Regions from separate parts of the Homo sapiens genome. Here region 2 is linked to region 1. The links are contacts of gene promoters, found by promoter capture Hi-C in blood cells and fetal thymus (Javierre and others, 2016). All regions are on one chromosome and are shown on one strand. The core of a region is centred on a gene start or on the middle of the fragment in contact, and the rest is flanking DNA. Distances in the headings are between cores, read along the strand shown.

Evidence for each region. The method cuts DNA at HindIII sites, captures the fragments that hold promoters and counts their contacts. A CHiCAGO score of 5 or more calls a contact.
Region 2: a fragment that was not itself captured here is called in contact with the fragment with the promoter of MTCL1 in region 1 in 1 of 17 cell types (endothelial precursors); the score reaches 5.2 in endothelial precursors.

What each region holds. Positions count from the first base shown.
Region 1 is chr18:8,700,285-8,707,489 of GRCh38, reverse strand. It overlaps MTCL1 (microtubule crosslinking factor 1), which reads right to left and starts at 1,934. Exons shown (of 15, transcript NM_001395333.1): 1 at 777-1,934. The coding sequence starts at 1,829. It overlaps GACAT2 (gastric cancer associated transcript 2), which reads left to right. Exons shown (of 2, transcript NR_120598.1): 1 at 1-420. RefSeq lists silencers at 1,710-1,769, 2,150-2,589. The HindIII fragment of the contact is 5,801 bases long and covers 1-4,318 here.
Region 2 is chr18:8,804,802-8,812,006 of GRCh38, reverse strand. MTCL1 (microtubule crosslinking factor 1) reads right to left here. Exons shown (of 15, transcript NM_001395333.1): 10 at 4,947-5,114. Among named protein-coding and RNA genes, the nearest start is that of GACAT2, 100 kb to the right of the region's middle. The HindIII fragment of the contact is 1,763 bases long and covers 2,926-4,688 here.

The DNA.
Region 1 (7,205 bases), core at 685-3,184:
GCACCCAGTGCTAAGGCGACTAAGACGCCACTGCCCGCAGGCCCTGCCGGAAAATACTCAGAGAGTGCAGCAGGCGCCGCGATTCCTTAGAAAGTGCTGGCGTGGCCTCTCCTGACACAGAAAGCCGGCTCCTGGATGCTTACAAAGGACTGGCCCGCGCAACACCGTTGCTCCTCAACCCGGGCCACACTCCAAGGACCTCTACTGAGCTTCAGCTTGCTCACCGAAAACGGCGCGGCCCCCTCTACCCGGGATGTCGGAGCCCAGGAGACCCTGAGAGCCCCCAGCTCTTTCCGTAATTGCAGGAGAAGGGGCAAGCGGGTCCGTAGCCGGGGGCCCTCCAGTGGCATTATCCTGAACCGCCACGCCCGCACGTGGCCCGGCTAGAGCTCCCTGGCGAAGGATCACCTGTTCCTACAGGTGAGGCTGGCACGTTCTGAGCGGGGATGGGGGCGTCCGCTGATGTCCCCAAAACGATTACAGCCTCCTCTGCCCCAACAGGTCAACAAAAGTAAAAGTATCAGCGAAGAGACGCAAGAGTTCTAGACGCGAGAAAAGAGAAGTGGGTTGCGAACTGGCGGGGTCCCACAGGTCTTGCTTCTCCTTCCAGAAGTTTGGGCTTAAGTTGCCAATGCCTGACAATGCGGGGGTAGGACCGTGGAGAGCAGGAGGGAGAAGGCGCTGGACAGGCCCGGGAAGGAGGGGTTGGCGGGTCCCCGCCGCAGCCAGGCCCTCCGGGGGCGCCCCGGGACACCTGCGGCCGAGGCGCGGCTCACCTTGAGATAGTCGTTCTCCGAGCGCAGCTCCTCCATCTCCCGCAGCAGCTCTTCTTCCTCCGCCGCTGGCACGAGCCGAGACTGCTCGCCCAGGCTGGGCTCCTTGGGGGTCCCGGGGACTGGTCGCTCCGGTGGCGAGCGCCCCCGGACATCCTCCGCCACGCCGGGCCCCGCGAAACCCCCCGAAACCCCGCTCGGGATGCTCCGGCCCCCGGGACAGGCGCCCGCGGCGAGGGGCGCGGCGAGGAGCGCTGGGGGCTCGGGGCTGCCCGGCGGCGCTCCTCGGGCTGCGGGGCTCGGCGTCGGCGCTCCTCGTGGGGGTTCACGGTCGCTGGAGCCCGTGCCGGATTCGGCGTCGCTGCTGGCGGCAGGGAGCAGGCGCTGCTCGTCGGACAGGGGTTCGGAGGGGCAGTCAGAGAGGTCGGAGCTGCTGTCCGTGTGGCTGATGCGCGAGCAGCGGGCCGGGGACCCGGCCACCGAGGTCACCGCGAGGGTCACGGCAGGGATCCGGGCGGCCGGGGTCGGGGGGCCGACGGTGCGGGCGGGTGGCGCCCGGGAGCCGCGCTTGGCTTTGCGGCCCTTGGCAGCGGCAGACGGCGGCTCGGCTCCGGGAGGCTTCCCAGCCCGGGACAGCGGCTCCGCGGGCGCCACGCGCGCCGCCCTCCTGCTTCCCAGGGCAGCCTTGGCACCGCCCGCCGCTCTGGCCCCGGCGCCCGGCGGGGGCTTGTCCTTCGCGCCCGGGACGCCGCCACTGCGCCGAGAGAGGCGGCCGGGCGCGGCCAGGGACCCCGGCGAGGGCGGCGCTTTGCCCGCGAGGTTGGGCGAGCGCGGGGCGGCGGGAGCCGGGGCTCGGCCCGAGGAGGGGACGGCCGGGCCGGGCGCGGCGGGCCGGGCGTGCAGGTCCTTGAGGAAGGGTCTGGCGGGCGAGGGCGCACGGTGCAGCCGCCGCCTTTCGGCCACCGGGTGGAGGTGGTGGTGGCGGTGGTGCTGGCCGGGCGGCTGCAGCTTCGCGTCCGGGGCACCTCCGCCCGCGGGGCCGTTCAGTGTCTCCATGGCCGGGTCCGCCGGCAGCAGCTCAGGCAGCAGATGCTCCGGACGACGACGGCGGCGGCGGCGGCGGCGGCGGCGTGCAGCCTCCCCGCGCGCTCTCTCATCACTGTCCCAGCCCCGCCCGGGCTGCGCCCCGCGCTCCCGCCGTCCCCGCCCCCCGCACCCCGGCCCCGAGGATTCCCGCGGGGCTCGCCGCCGCCGCGCTCGCCCCTCGCTGAGGTCACCGCGGATCGAGTTCTCCCGGCTCAGCAGCGCGGCGGCTCCCGGCCGCTCGCATCCCCGGACCTCGCGCTCCGGGCTCGCGGTCACCGGTGCCGCGGCGGCGCTGGCGGCGCGCGCCCGGCTCCCGCGTCCCGCTCCCCGCCCACCGCCGGCCCGCTGCTGCCCGTGCCCGCCCCCGCCGCTCCCGGCTGAGAGAAGCCGCACGCGCGCGCCCCACCTCCCCGCCGCCCAGCGCCCTCGCCCAGGCCCGTGCGCATGCCCCGCCTCCAGCCAGCCGGCGCCGTGCAGGGGAGGGGCGAGGGAAGGGGCGGGGGCTTGCGCTCCCCGGGGGGCGGGCGCCCGGCAGGGGCGGGACCTGCGCGCCCTTGGGAGCAGGCGCAGGCTGGATCCATGGGGCCTCGCTGCCCGGGGACCCTCCTTGCTTTTTGAGGCCCTAGAGACGCTGCCAGGAGCTAGGGAGGAAGGGAAGAGGCGGAGGTGAAGTGGTGGCAAGGGGCGGCGCCGGCCACTTGGGGAAGGCGTGTGCCGCGGCTGACAACACCCCTCTCATGCCTCTCCATCCACCGCCCGCCTCCCCGAGGCCAGTCACCTCCCTCGCTGTCCTCTCCAAGCTGTGCCCCTGGTCCCCGAGCTCCTTTAAGGATCGCTGGTACCCGACGCAGCTCTCGCGTCTAAACGGCACGGCGGGCGCTCCACAGTTGGCACCCCCGTGGCCTCGGGAGCTCAGGAGGAGCTGCTGCCCAAACAGGAGGAGCCCTCGCCAAACCTGGGGGTCAGAAAGGGAACTCACATTTATAGTTCCGGCTGCGAGCCAGGCCTGCTGGCCACTTACTGAGCAGTGTTTTATTTAAGCCTCACCACAGTCCCAGATTGGAATTGCTGTCTTCGGTGAAGACTAGGGCACCGGCGCTGGGAGGTGAAGTCACTTGCCTGCGATGCCTCACCCAGTCCCTAGCTGAGCGGGTTTAAACCCAGGTCTTCAGGATTCCGAGTCCTGCAGGCTTTCCGCTCAGAGCCCGGAGCCCGGCCACCGGTTCTACCACTTGAGTCTCCCATGCGCAAGGCACTAGACCTTTCTGAGCCCCAGTTCCCTCGCCTGTATCATTAAAACGTACTGCCACCTGAGCATGTGTGAAGATTTAGCAAATACCAGAACACACCGTGCAAACTGTAAAGTACAGTTCACATACCATTGGGTGCAGTTTATGTCCCAGGCGTTGGATGTTGGCCAGTGCCCATAGGAATAGGGGCCAGCCTGTCCTCCAGCCCTGGCGTTGCAGGAGGCAGAGGGTCAGGTAATAATTACAAGGAGGAGGGCGGGAGCATAACCCTGCCTGGTGAGGCTCGCATTTTCCTGGAAGGACGGGTTGGTCTCTCAGCTGAGGGCCCAGGACACAGTAGAGCCTGCAGAGAGCAGGGCCCCTGGGCGGGGAGGCAGGTAGGTTAGGGATTAGAGGGGAGACTGGAGGGTGTGTGGCACCAAATATCCTACCAAGGCCGTTGGGCATTATCCTAGAGGCGGTAGCCACGGGGTATTCTGAGCAAGATGATCTGATGTGCTCAAAAAGACCCCGGGGGCAGCAACCTGGAGGAGAGGGAGGTGGGCCACGGGAGCTGCGAGCGGCTGTGGCAGTATGCGCGGTGAGGGGGCCTTGGGAGCAGGGACAGAGAAGAGGGGGCCGACTCGCAAAAATAGGAGGAAAAAATCGACTCCAAAGTCTGTGATCTTAACCACAGATTTACCCTACTTAGCCATCTCCTTCAAAAAATGCAGGATGAACCCTTTTGTTGTAATCCCTACGTCAGGAGAGCCCTGCCCCGAAGTCGTCCTGCCTCGCCCTGGCTGAGCTCTGGGGGCACTGAGACCTCGCCTGCTCTGCTGCTGTTGTGGTCTTTGTGAGTCGTTTTTCTGGGAATGCCTCTGAATGGGAGACAGCACGCACGAAATCCAATCTCTACGAAATCCAATTCCTTAATCTCCTTTGAGGCTAATGCCCTAGCCGTTTCTCCAGCGTTGGGAGAAGGACACTGTTGGCTCCACGGTGGGCGTGGATGACGGCACACCTCGAAAGGCTTGAGAGGTGTTGGCCACCGCTCGCGCCGGGCCTGCTGTCCCCAGAGGGCCCTCTAGCTCTGCCCTTCCGTGGGAGGGGGCCCGCGGTCGGGCCAGAGCACAACTGACCTCTGCCTAGAACTTCCTCCAGAGGCTCTGAAGCCTCCCACACCCTCACATTTCCGAAGAATTATGGCCAGGACTCTCAGCACAAGCTTGCCAGCTTCTCATACCATATACACTCAAAGAAAGGGCCCCCCAAAAAAGTTTCAATACGCTAGTCTTCTAAAGACAGTAGCTTGATGACTATAGGATTTGCAGCCAGCTTCTCTTTCTTTCAGGTAATAAGTCAGATAAAATTCATCCTCCTTACTACTTATTATTAGCCTGGCAAATGAGACTACTAGCCCTTTGTAAGGAAGTATTCAATCAATGCTTTCTCTTTTTTTTTCTTTTTTCTTCCTTTTTTTTTTTAAGAGATGGGGTCTTGCTATGTTGCCCAGACTGAAGTCAAACTTCCTGGGCTTAAGCCATCTTCCCACCTCAGCCTCCCAAGTAGCTGGGACTACAGGCATGCACCACCCAGCCCAGCCAATAATGCCTTCTTTGTTTTCCAGTATTCAGTGAGTTACAGGTATAAAGAGATATCTGATTGCATAATAGATGTTTTTTAAAGTCACTCAAAAAAAAAAAGAAAAGAAAAGAAAAAGAAAAAGTGGTCCAGGCGTGGTGGCTCACGCCTGTAATCCCAGCATTTTGGGAGGCCAAGGTGGGCAGATAGCTTGAGCTCAGGAGTTGGAGATCAGCCTGGGCAACATGGCAAAATCCTGTCTCTACCAAAAAAACACAAAAATACAAAAATAAGCTGGGCATGGTGGCATACACCTGTAGTTCCAGCTACTTGAGAGGCTGAGGCAGGAGGCTCCCTCAAGCCCAGGAGGGGAGGTTGCAGTGAGCCATGATCATGCCACTGCACTCCAGCCTGGGTGATGGGAGTGAAACCCTGTCTCAAAAAAATGGGAAGGAAGGAAGGGAGGGAAGGAGGCAGGGAGGGAGGGAGGGAAAGAAGGGAAGGGAAGGGAGGAAGGGAAGGAGGGAGCAAAGAAAGGAAATACTTGATTTTAAATTCTTTTTCTGTTAAATCAAATTAATCTAAAGGTAATAGAGGATTTACTATTTAAGGGAACCATAGAGTGCTTATTCTGTGAAATAACAAAACCCAGCATGGGCGTGCCTGTTTTCATCTGCGTGCCCTCAGATCCAGTCTTGCCCCTCTGCTACTCTGATGTGAGTGGAAGTGTGGGTTTCCAGGCCGCTGGGTTTGCTGATTGGGTTTGGCCAGTGGAGGTGCCGTCAGGAGATGGGAGTGGACCCAGAAGGAAGAAACCAGGTTATTTCTTACTCTCTCTGCTGCAGGCGGCTTCTCTGGCAGTGGCTGGGTCTCTGTGAGGAGTGGATTTCTGAGGTTCCAGCCATCACTGGATGGACTACTCCTCCTGGTAGCTTTTCGTCCTCCACTGCCTCGTATCAAGGGTGGTGGTGCCTTCCTGTGCTTGCAGATCTCCGGGTTGCTTCACTGTGGCTGATTCCCTGCATTGCAACCCTGGATTGTAAATGCTGGCACAAGGCCCAGGGCCCCATCGTCTCATTCCTCTGCAGAGGCCCAAATACTGTCCTAGGGAGCTGCGTGCAGCAGTGGTGTGATGAGTAATGTTTGTGTGGCTGTGTTCACAACCTCTTTGTCCAAGAACGGTGTGGTATGGTGACAAGACCTGAGGCTTTGACACCAGGTAAATCTGGGTTCAAATCCTGCCCAAGTCATTTGCTGTCTGTGTGGCCTTGGGTAAGGTATTGTTATCAAGTCATCATCATCATTTAACACCAGTGAAATAATCTTCAGAATCATCATCATTATTTAACACCAGTGAAATAATCTTCAAAACTCTTAAAATATGAGCAAACCAGATTTTTCACTCAGATTCCAAACTCTCACTCAGAGAGTTAGAAATCTATTCTGTGTCTATACAGTTATATAAAGAGAAATGAATTCTTTTTTTACTTGGTTTGACTCATAGACAAAAAAAAAAATGTGACTTACTCAGGACTATACTTCACTCTATACTCCCAGGCAGAATTATATGCAGAATTTCTATACCTTTAATACATTGTCCAAACCCAGGCATATGTGTATCTTCCAGTTTTTCCCCTTATTTTAACAGAAAGGCACATTTAAAATATGAAAGCATTCCTGGTTGAAGTCATGAGAAATCATGAAATCATACTCTTTGAAAAGAATGGAAAGAAGAGGGAATTTTTCAGAGTGAGTGGCTTTTTGGGCACTGCAAGAAAGTTAACCTTAAAAAGAGACAACCTAATAATGCCTGATCCCCCCGCCTCCCCACCACCCGCCAAGGTTGAAGCTGGAGTCTGCATCCAACACTGGGGTCTGTGGGGACCTCCCAGCTCTCTTTGCAAGGGTGATTGCCAAAATGCCACATGGGACCTGAAAAAGGCTTCATGTCCAGATTGGCAGCTGTGCATGGCATTGGTGGTGACAATGACAATAACTTAAGAGGCTCTTAAACCTTGAGGTCATTAAAATCTCCTGGTGAGACTGTTAAAAATGCAAATTATCTGGCCACATCCCCAGGGATCTGATTTAAGAGATATGAGCCCAGAAAGCTGTATTATTATTATTATTATTATTATTATTATTATTATTATTATTTTGAGGTGGAATCTTGTTCTGTTGCCCAGGCTAAAGTGCAGTGGAACGATCTTGGCTCACTGCAACCTCCGCCTCCTGGACTCAAGCGACTCTTCTGCCTCAGCCTCCTGAGTAGCTGAGATTACAGGTATCCGCCACCACGCCCAGCTAATTTTTTGTATTTTCAGTAGAGACAGGGTTTCGCCATGTTGGCCAGGCTGGTCTCAAACTCCTGACCTCAAATGATCCGCACGCCTCAGAGTCCCAAAGTGCTGGGATTACAGGTGTGAGCCACTACGCCCGGCCGGAAGGCTGTATTTTTAACAAATACTTTTGATGCAAGTAATTATCTTACTTCCCATTGAAAAACACTGTGTTAGTGTTTCTTTTTTCTCTC
Region 2 (7,205 bases), core at 2,558-5,057, 100 kb before region 1:
TCCTCAGGCAGCATGAAAAGTAGCCTAATAGGACTTCAAGGTAGACTCTGATTAATTAAATACGTATATTATAAACCCTAGGGCAAACACTAAAACTGCACAACAGCTTGCTGTTCAGTGTCTCGTTTTTATCCTCATAAGCAATCTCTTATATTTCATTAAGTGCACAATTTTAACAAATTGTATACTTTTCAAAGGAAGGCCTTTCACATAGATTGCCTCATTTGGTGTCTACTGCAATCCTGTAAATACGTATAGGTATCCTTATTCCCAGTTTATTTGTGAAGAAATGGCAGCTCAGTGCTTTAGGGACTTGCCTAAGGGACATGGTAAGTCAGTAACCATTATTCCTATGTAGAGTTCAATTAACTTTCTTAAAATGAGTTACTTCAAGACCCACTAAAATAATTCATAGCTGATTATCCATGTCTGAAAAGATTCTTTTAACTTTTTTGAGACCATAGATATATATATGTATATATATATAAAGATTAATGACTTAAACCACCCAGTATTATTCTATTTAGAAAGATGTCTGTATCAGTGCTGTAGTTTGGATGTTTGTCCCCCAAACTTCACGTTGAAATCTGATCCCCAGTGTCGGAGATGGGGCCTAGTGGGAGGTGTCTGGGTCATGTGGGTGGACTGTGCATGAACAGATTCATGCCCTGCGGCGGGGAGTGAGTAACCTCTCCCTCTATTATTTCTTTAAGAGCTGGTTGTTTAAAAGAGCCTGGCACCTCCGCCCACCTGTACTTCCTTTCTTGCCATGTGATCTGCACACATCGGCTCCCCTTTGCCTTTTGCTGAGTGGAAGCAGCCTGGCCCTCTCCAGCAGCAGATGCTGGCACCATGCTTCTTGTGCAGCTTGCAGAACTGTAAGCTAAATAAACCTTGTTGTTAAATAAATCACCCAGCCTCAGGTATTCCTTTATTGCAACAGTAAACGGACTAAGACAGGCTGCTGAGTGGTGTGCTCAGTTAAACTGGAAGTTTTTGCTCACAAGGGACTCACTGGGAGAGAGCTAACATCGAATCTCGCCTCTGTAATAAAGGCAAATGCTTCATTAAGCGGGGAGAGCACACTGTTTTGTCCCTGAATCTTAGTGGAACTCAGGCCTGCTTGGAGAGAAAGCAGGGAAAGGCTTGAGGAAGCAGATGACAGCCACGGGCACAGGTCAGTGGTGACGCTTCTTGATCAATTATTTATAAAATGTAAATCTGGGGAAAATAAAACTTTTTCTAAGTAGAAAGAATGCAGAAACAAAAGAGGGGAGAAACCTCCAGTGTTAGTTAACCAGAAGACTACCAGAAAAGCACCAAGCACCACAAAATCCCAGTTTAAAAGAGCTGCTGGAAGTCCACGTAACCCAGAATGAAAGACAGGCTGCTGAGCCCCTCGCACGTACGTCTGTTCACCTGTAGATGCTTCCAGCAACCAACAGGTCCTCTCTTTAGAATCTCCTCATGCAGCGTACCCCTTCCTGGGCCCCACATCACTTCTGCTCACCCGCTTTGTGAAGACAGTGAAGGGACACTCCTTCTGCCCACAAGCTCCTCTGTGTCCACACCTCTCAGGTCTCTCATGGTCAGGGTCACCCCTCCCCTCAATGCTTAGAGCCCAATCCCCCTGCCTACTGAGGAACCTCGTGTCATCAGTGGCCCTGCACTGTCAGGTCTCACTGGACAGGCGTCCCCATGACTCCGCGGCTCCTGTTACTGCACTGTCTGTGCTCCTTCTTTCCCCTTCACCGCCAAACTCAACTTCTGTCCCTCGGCACAGCGCACAGTCCTTCAGCCCCGCACACCTGACGGCAACTGTTCTTGTCAAGTTTTGCAGTGCCCTCCTCACTGCCAAGTTCAACAGAACTTTTTATCCTTCATCTGTCCTGTCCTCTTCAAAGCATCCGATATCGCTGAACTCCACCTGGAACGCCACAGCGTCTCTCCCTTTGGCTTCTGGGACAGCATTTGCTTTGGATTTTCATAAATTTCTCTGGCTGCTCCTTTCCAATCTCTTCTCCTTCCACTAATTTCTGCAAAATGAATATTTTGGTTCCTTCTATGAGTTCCTTTCATTCTGTGCACAGTCCTGCAGCGTCCTCCATGGCCCTGCCTCCCACCTCCTCATTCACACCCAGGTATATACATCTTCAGCCCAGCCCTTTTCAAGTCCCAGTGCCTGTGATGACACACACCTCAAATCCAACCTGTCCCCTTTCCATCCCAACTGGTTGTCTCTCTGCGTTCCTGTCTCAGTGATGGCCCATCGCCCAGGCACCCGTACTAGAAACCTGACAGCCGTGCGAGGTGCCTGTTGCTCCACGGCGTCTCATGAACCGGCCACCAGGCCCGGCCACTCTCTACTTGCTCCGTTTTTTTCAGGTGTGTGCCCTCCACTCCTTCTCCACTGCTGCTGCTTTACTTCAGAGTCACCCCTCTCACCTCCAATCTCTGCAACCCAAGGCTCTTCAACGTTTTTACCGTGGACCCAGCTGGCAGCCTGGTGAAGCCTAAAGTCTCCTCCTCAATGTTAATTCTGGGATATCCACAACAATTCTAACGGGAAATGGAGAGATGTGTGTGATTACTTTTTATTCTTTCATTCCATACTTCCTTTCAAAAAGATCCGTGATTTCTGTTGGGCTTGTTGCCTATGTTTATAACCGGAGGACATGCTAAATTTTAGTGGAAAGTTAGTGACCATAAAGATGCGTCTCTTTCCTATTCTGGTTTGGCAATTCCCTGATTTCAGTCTACAGACCATTAACCCCAGGTTAATCCATTCGATTCTAATGGCTCCTAATCCATTCTCTATCTTGAAGCCAGAATAATCTTTTGAAAAAGGGAATCTAAACTTTCATGATAAAATCAGGATTAAAGTATCAATTCCTTAAAATTATTCTTTCCCCTCATACCTAAGCTTCTCAAATGAGCCATGCTCCTTTCTTCATGATACTTTTTTTTTTTTGCCTGAAACTTCCTTTCTCTCCTTTTCCACATTCCAGTTCTTGTCCATCCTTTGAGATTTTTCTCAGCAGGACTTTCACTTTCACAGCCTTCCCTGAATTCTCAAGCCAAGGCATGTGCCTTGCACGTTCCTGTTCCCTGACAGCCTACGTGCAAAAGCCCTGTGGGCACTTTCCACGCTGTTATAAAGGACAGCACTTGTCTAGGTCCCCCCACTGCACTGAGAACCCCTTCAAGGAACATCTGATTTGTTGCTGGATGTTCAACATTTAGAGCAAGGTCTGACTTAGGAGTCTGCTGAAGGAATCGTGGACTTGGGAAGTGTCATCAACGTGGGCTCCACTGAAAGAAGGTAACTTGTAGCAGAATTAAACTGTTTTGCATTTAAGCAGAAGAGGGTAAATATGGGATTATTACAAATGAGCTAGCATCATCCCATATTCATTGCTTCCTGGGTTGCAAATGTTTAAGAAACTTCCTAAATGATTTGGGCAGAAGATAAACTCTCTACCTATTACCACCTGGCTTCTGAATTTGAAGTTCTAGCTTTATTTTTTGGTATTTAGGGACACTCTCCCTGAGGGTTTATTTGTGGCAAACCTGTGGGTGGATACTACGTTCCTATAAAACAAAGATGAAATGTTTTGAAACTGGCTTGCATCGAAGATTACACCTCCCTTCCTTAGCTATAGTTCGGGCTTTGGAAACACTTAACTCCCCCTATAAACATATTTTTTTTAATAGGGTTAAAGACAGCTCATCAGAGACTGTCCTTAGTCATTTCTCCTCCGCTGCTGATGCTGCAGGCCGGGGACTAAGATAAACAGAGCATCTAGGTCAAATCCCCCGCGGGCAGCAGGCAGGAGCCACAATCAGGCCAGCTGCTCTCTCACTTGATGCCCAGGCCTGCAAGGCTGTGTCCCTGCCCCACCCAGGGCTATCAGCTCAGCATCACTGCTTGCTGTGGCCAGGTGGAAATGCAGGGGAACTTGTGGGTACCAGGAGAGCTGGAGTTTTTTTTTTTTTTTTTTGACACATCAAGTCTTTTTCATCTTTTATCAAGACCATGTGACAGGGGTCTCCTTTCCAGGCAATTCTTTTCCTTTCATGACCAGGCCAATCCCTACAAAATTTTACTTACTTTATGGTTTGCCTCAAAATAGAGTCTAGGAAATAGATTACCAAGGATACACAGACCTTCCCTCCCTCCTCATGATCAAGGGGCTGGAAGAAACCTCGAGAGACGCTCTCAGCAGCAGATACCATGTAGGAAGTCACATGACATTCAATGGTTTCCAAGGAAGAAACACTTAGGAAAGGATGTTTCTTGTTATGTCTGATCTTAACTCCTATGGCTGTGGTGTAAGACTTCAGAGGGGGCTTCCCTCTGTGGTGTGAGGTGGAGGCAGGAAACCCGGGCTCTCTTCCTGCCCTAGCACTACATGGCTCTGTGATCTGAGCTGAGCTGTTTCTTCTGGGCCTCAGTTTCCTTTGATATAAATAAGGAGACTGAAATGTATTAGAATTCTTGGGCATGCAGTGGGAGGTCTCCAAGTTCTTTTGATATTTTGAAAAATCTCAATGAAAGCATGCATTTACCTTTTTCAAAGACAACTAAACCACAGTCTGCTTTTGCTTTGCTCCTGTCTAGAGTTATGTCAGCTCAGTGTGATGACAGCTTCAGCCTGGCCGTCCTCTGATGCAGCTAAATACAAGCTTGTTTAATGCAGAATGGGAGAATACATGCTGCTCTGAAAATGCTGCTTGGTGGGGGCCGTACTGCATACTTGGGAGAGGGGACATCAGGGAAAATGGGGACTCTGCACTTTAAGAAGAGACACAAGCAGCCACTCCTCTCTTTTTTTCCTGGACAAGAAGCCCATGGTTCTGAATCTCTCTGTGCCCGCTCCCCCGCCACATATCCTGGACAGCAGAGACACACAGTCAGGATCGAGGGAGACCTGGGAGGGTGGTACCTGTTCCAGACGGCACTTGAGCACGGCCCACTCCACGTCCCAGGCCGCCTTGTCGCTGGCATATTGCTGCTGCAGCCGTAGTCGGGCACGCTCATCCTCCCGCAGCTCCGCACGGAAGTCCTCCAGCAAGGCCTTGAAGGCGCTGAACAGCTGCTGGTTTTCCACCACCTGCGGGAACACTGAGTCAGGCTCCACCACCTCCTTTAAGCGTATTTTTTAGGTCAGAAGAGGAGAGGATCTGGCTATCAAGGTAGTGTGGGGGCTGTTTCCCAGGTGTTGTTGGCAGTGGGTGCAGGGTGGGTGGGGAGTCTGCAGTTAGCCGGGGAGCAAAGAAAGGGTCCCTGTTGCTGGCCATCGGTCTCCTGGGCCTGAGACTGAGGGCCTGTTTGATCAGGAGGAGGGTAGAAGGAAGGCTGCCCTGGTGACCTGGCAGCTGTGTTCAGACGCCGGAACCTGGGCTGGCACTGTGGGAACCTGCCACAGAGGTGCTGTGGGCCCTGAGGAGCAGGAGCAAGGAAACTGCAGGAGGCCACAGGGAACCCCAAAGCCAGGGCTGCCAGTCACTGTGTGACTTTAGATGTCCAGAACACTGAGTTGGGCTGACAAGACTGTCATGAGGGTGCAGATATGACAAGACCTACACACTCACCTACATATATGCTGCCATTCTAGTGCCAGATGTTGTACTAGAGGAGAATTAATAAAGACCGAGGACTCCTATGCACATAGGGTAATCAGACTCCGATTGGTGGTTACTAAAAGGTCACAGATATGACACACATGGCCACTGTGTGTGGGTGGGTTTAATTATTAAACATTTTGATGTTTAATAATTAAAGCCAAAGGTGAAATGCATAACCTGTTCAGGAAGGCTTTATTGTGGTCCCTTGAGATAGAACTATCAGCCCCCACTTTTCTGCCTCTTGGAAAGGACAAGCCAGACCCACCCTCACATTTCCAGTATTTGGCACAATCCTTGGCTCATGTTAAGCATGCAAATGTGTCTGGTAAATGAAGAGTGGATTTTTATTACTAATCTGCTTATATCTAACTTAAAATGGTTTATATGTTCTGAAACCTGCCCAGCCCTTTGAAGTCAAATTTCAAAGCCATGATTTCTGTCTTAGTACATTTCAGCAAGGGCATTATATCAGAAGGGTTTGGCCAAATGAATGAAACACGCTGAATCAATTATGGTACCTTGATAATAAAAGCCTCGTGAGCCCATCTCTTCCAACCAGCACGGAAAGCACATCACAAGCTCTCAGGGCGGTCTCAGGGCATTCTTTTTTGGTGCATGTATGAAGCAAGAGTTATAAAAGCTCTCTAAGTCCCACTGGACATAGATAAGCTCTACTATGGAAAAACAGAGCCCCACCCTCTCAGAATTCCTCATCCCCCAAACTTGATAAACCTCTCCTCCCTGGTTCAGCAAGTACACTGGGACCCCTCCTTCAGGTTCTACACACACACTGGCCTTCACTCCACAGTCATGCTTCTAAATCCATCTAGTTGATCCACTAAACATACACAAAAATGGTTAAGTATATATGGGAGGAATTTAAGATACTTTGGATGGATGTTTGTATTTACATAAAATTGTGCAGCCACAAAAAAGAATGAAATCATGGCTTCTGCAGCAACATGGTTGCAGCTGGAGGCCATTATCCTAAGCAAGTTAATGCAGGAACAGAAAACCAAATACCGCATGTTCTCACTTATATGTGGGAGCCAAACATTGGGTATACTCGGACAGAGATGGGAACAACAGACACTGGGTATTCCAAAAGGGGTTGCGAGGAGAGGGGCAAGGGTTGAAAAATTACCTATTGGGTACTATGTTCACTACTTAGGTGATAGGGTCATTAGAAGCCCACACCTCAGCAACATGCAATATACCATATAATAAACCTGCACATGTACCCCCTGAACCTAAAATTCTATATATATATATATATTCAAAAATAAAGTTGTATTAAAAAGAGAAATTCTTTAATATGAGCAGATTTATTATAGAGATCTCCATAGTTGTCCCCAGCATTTAATTAAGTGGACTTTTTTTTTTTTTTTTTTTGAGGCAAGGTCTCGCTCTGTCACCCAGGCTAGAATGCAGTGGATCACGGCTCACTGCAGCCTCAACCTCCTGGGCTCAAGCAGTCCTCCCACCTCACACTCCCAAGTAGCTGGGACTACAGGCGTGTGCCGCCATGCCCAGCTAATTTTTGTATTTTTTGTAGAAACAAGGTTTCATCATGTTGC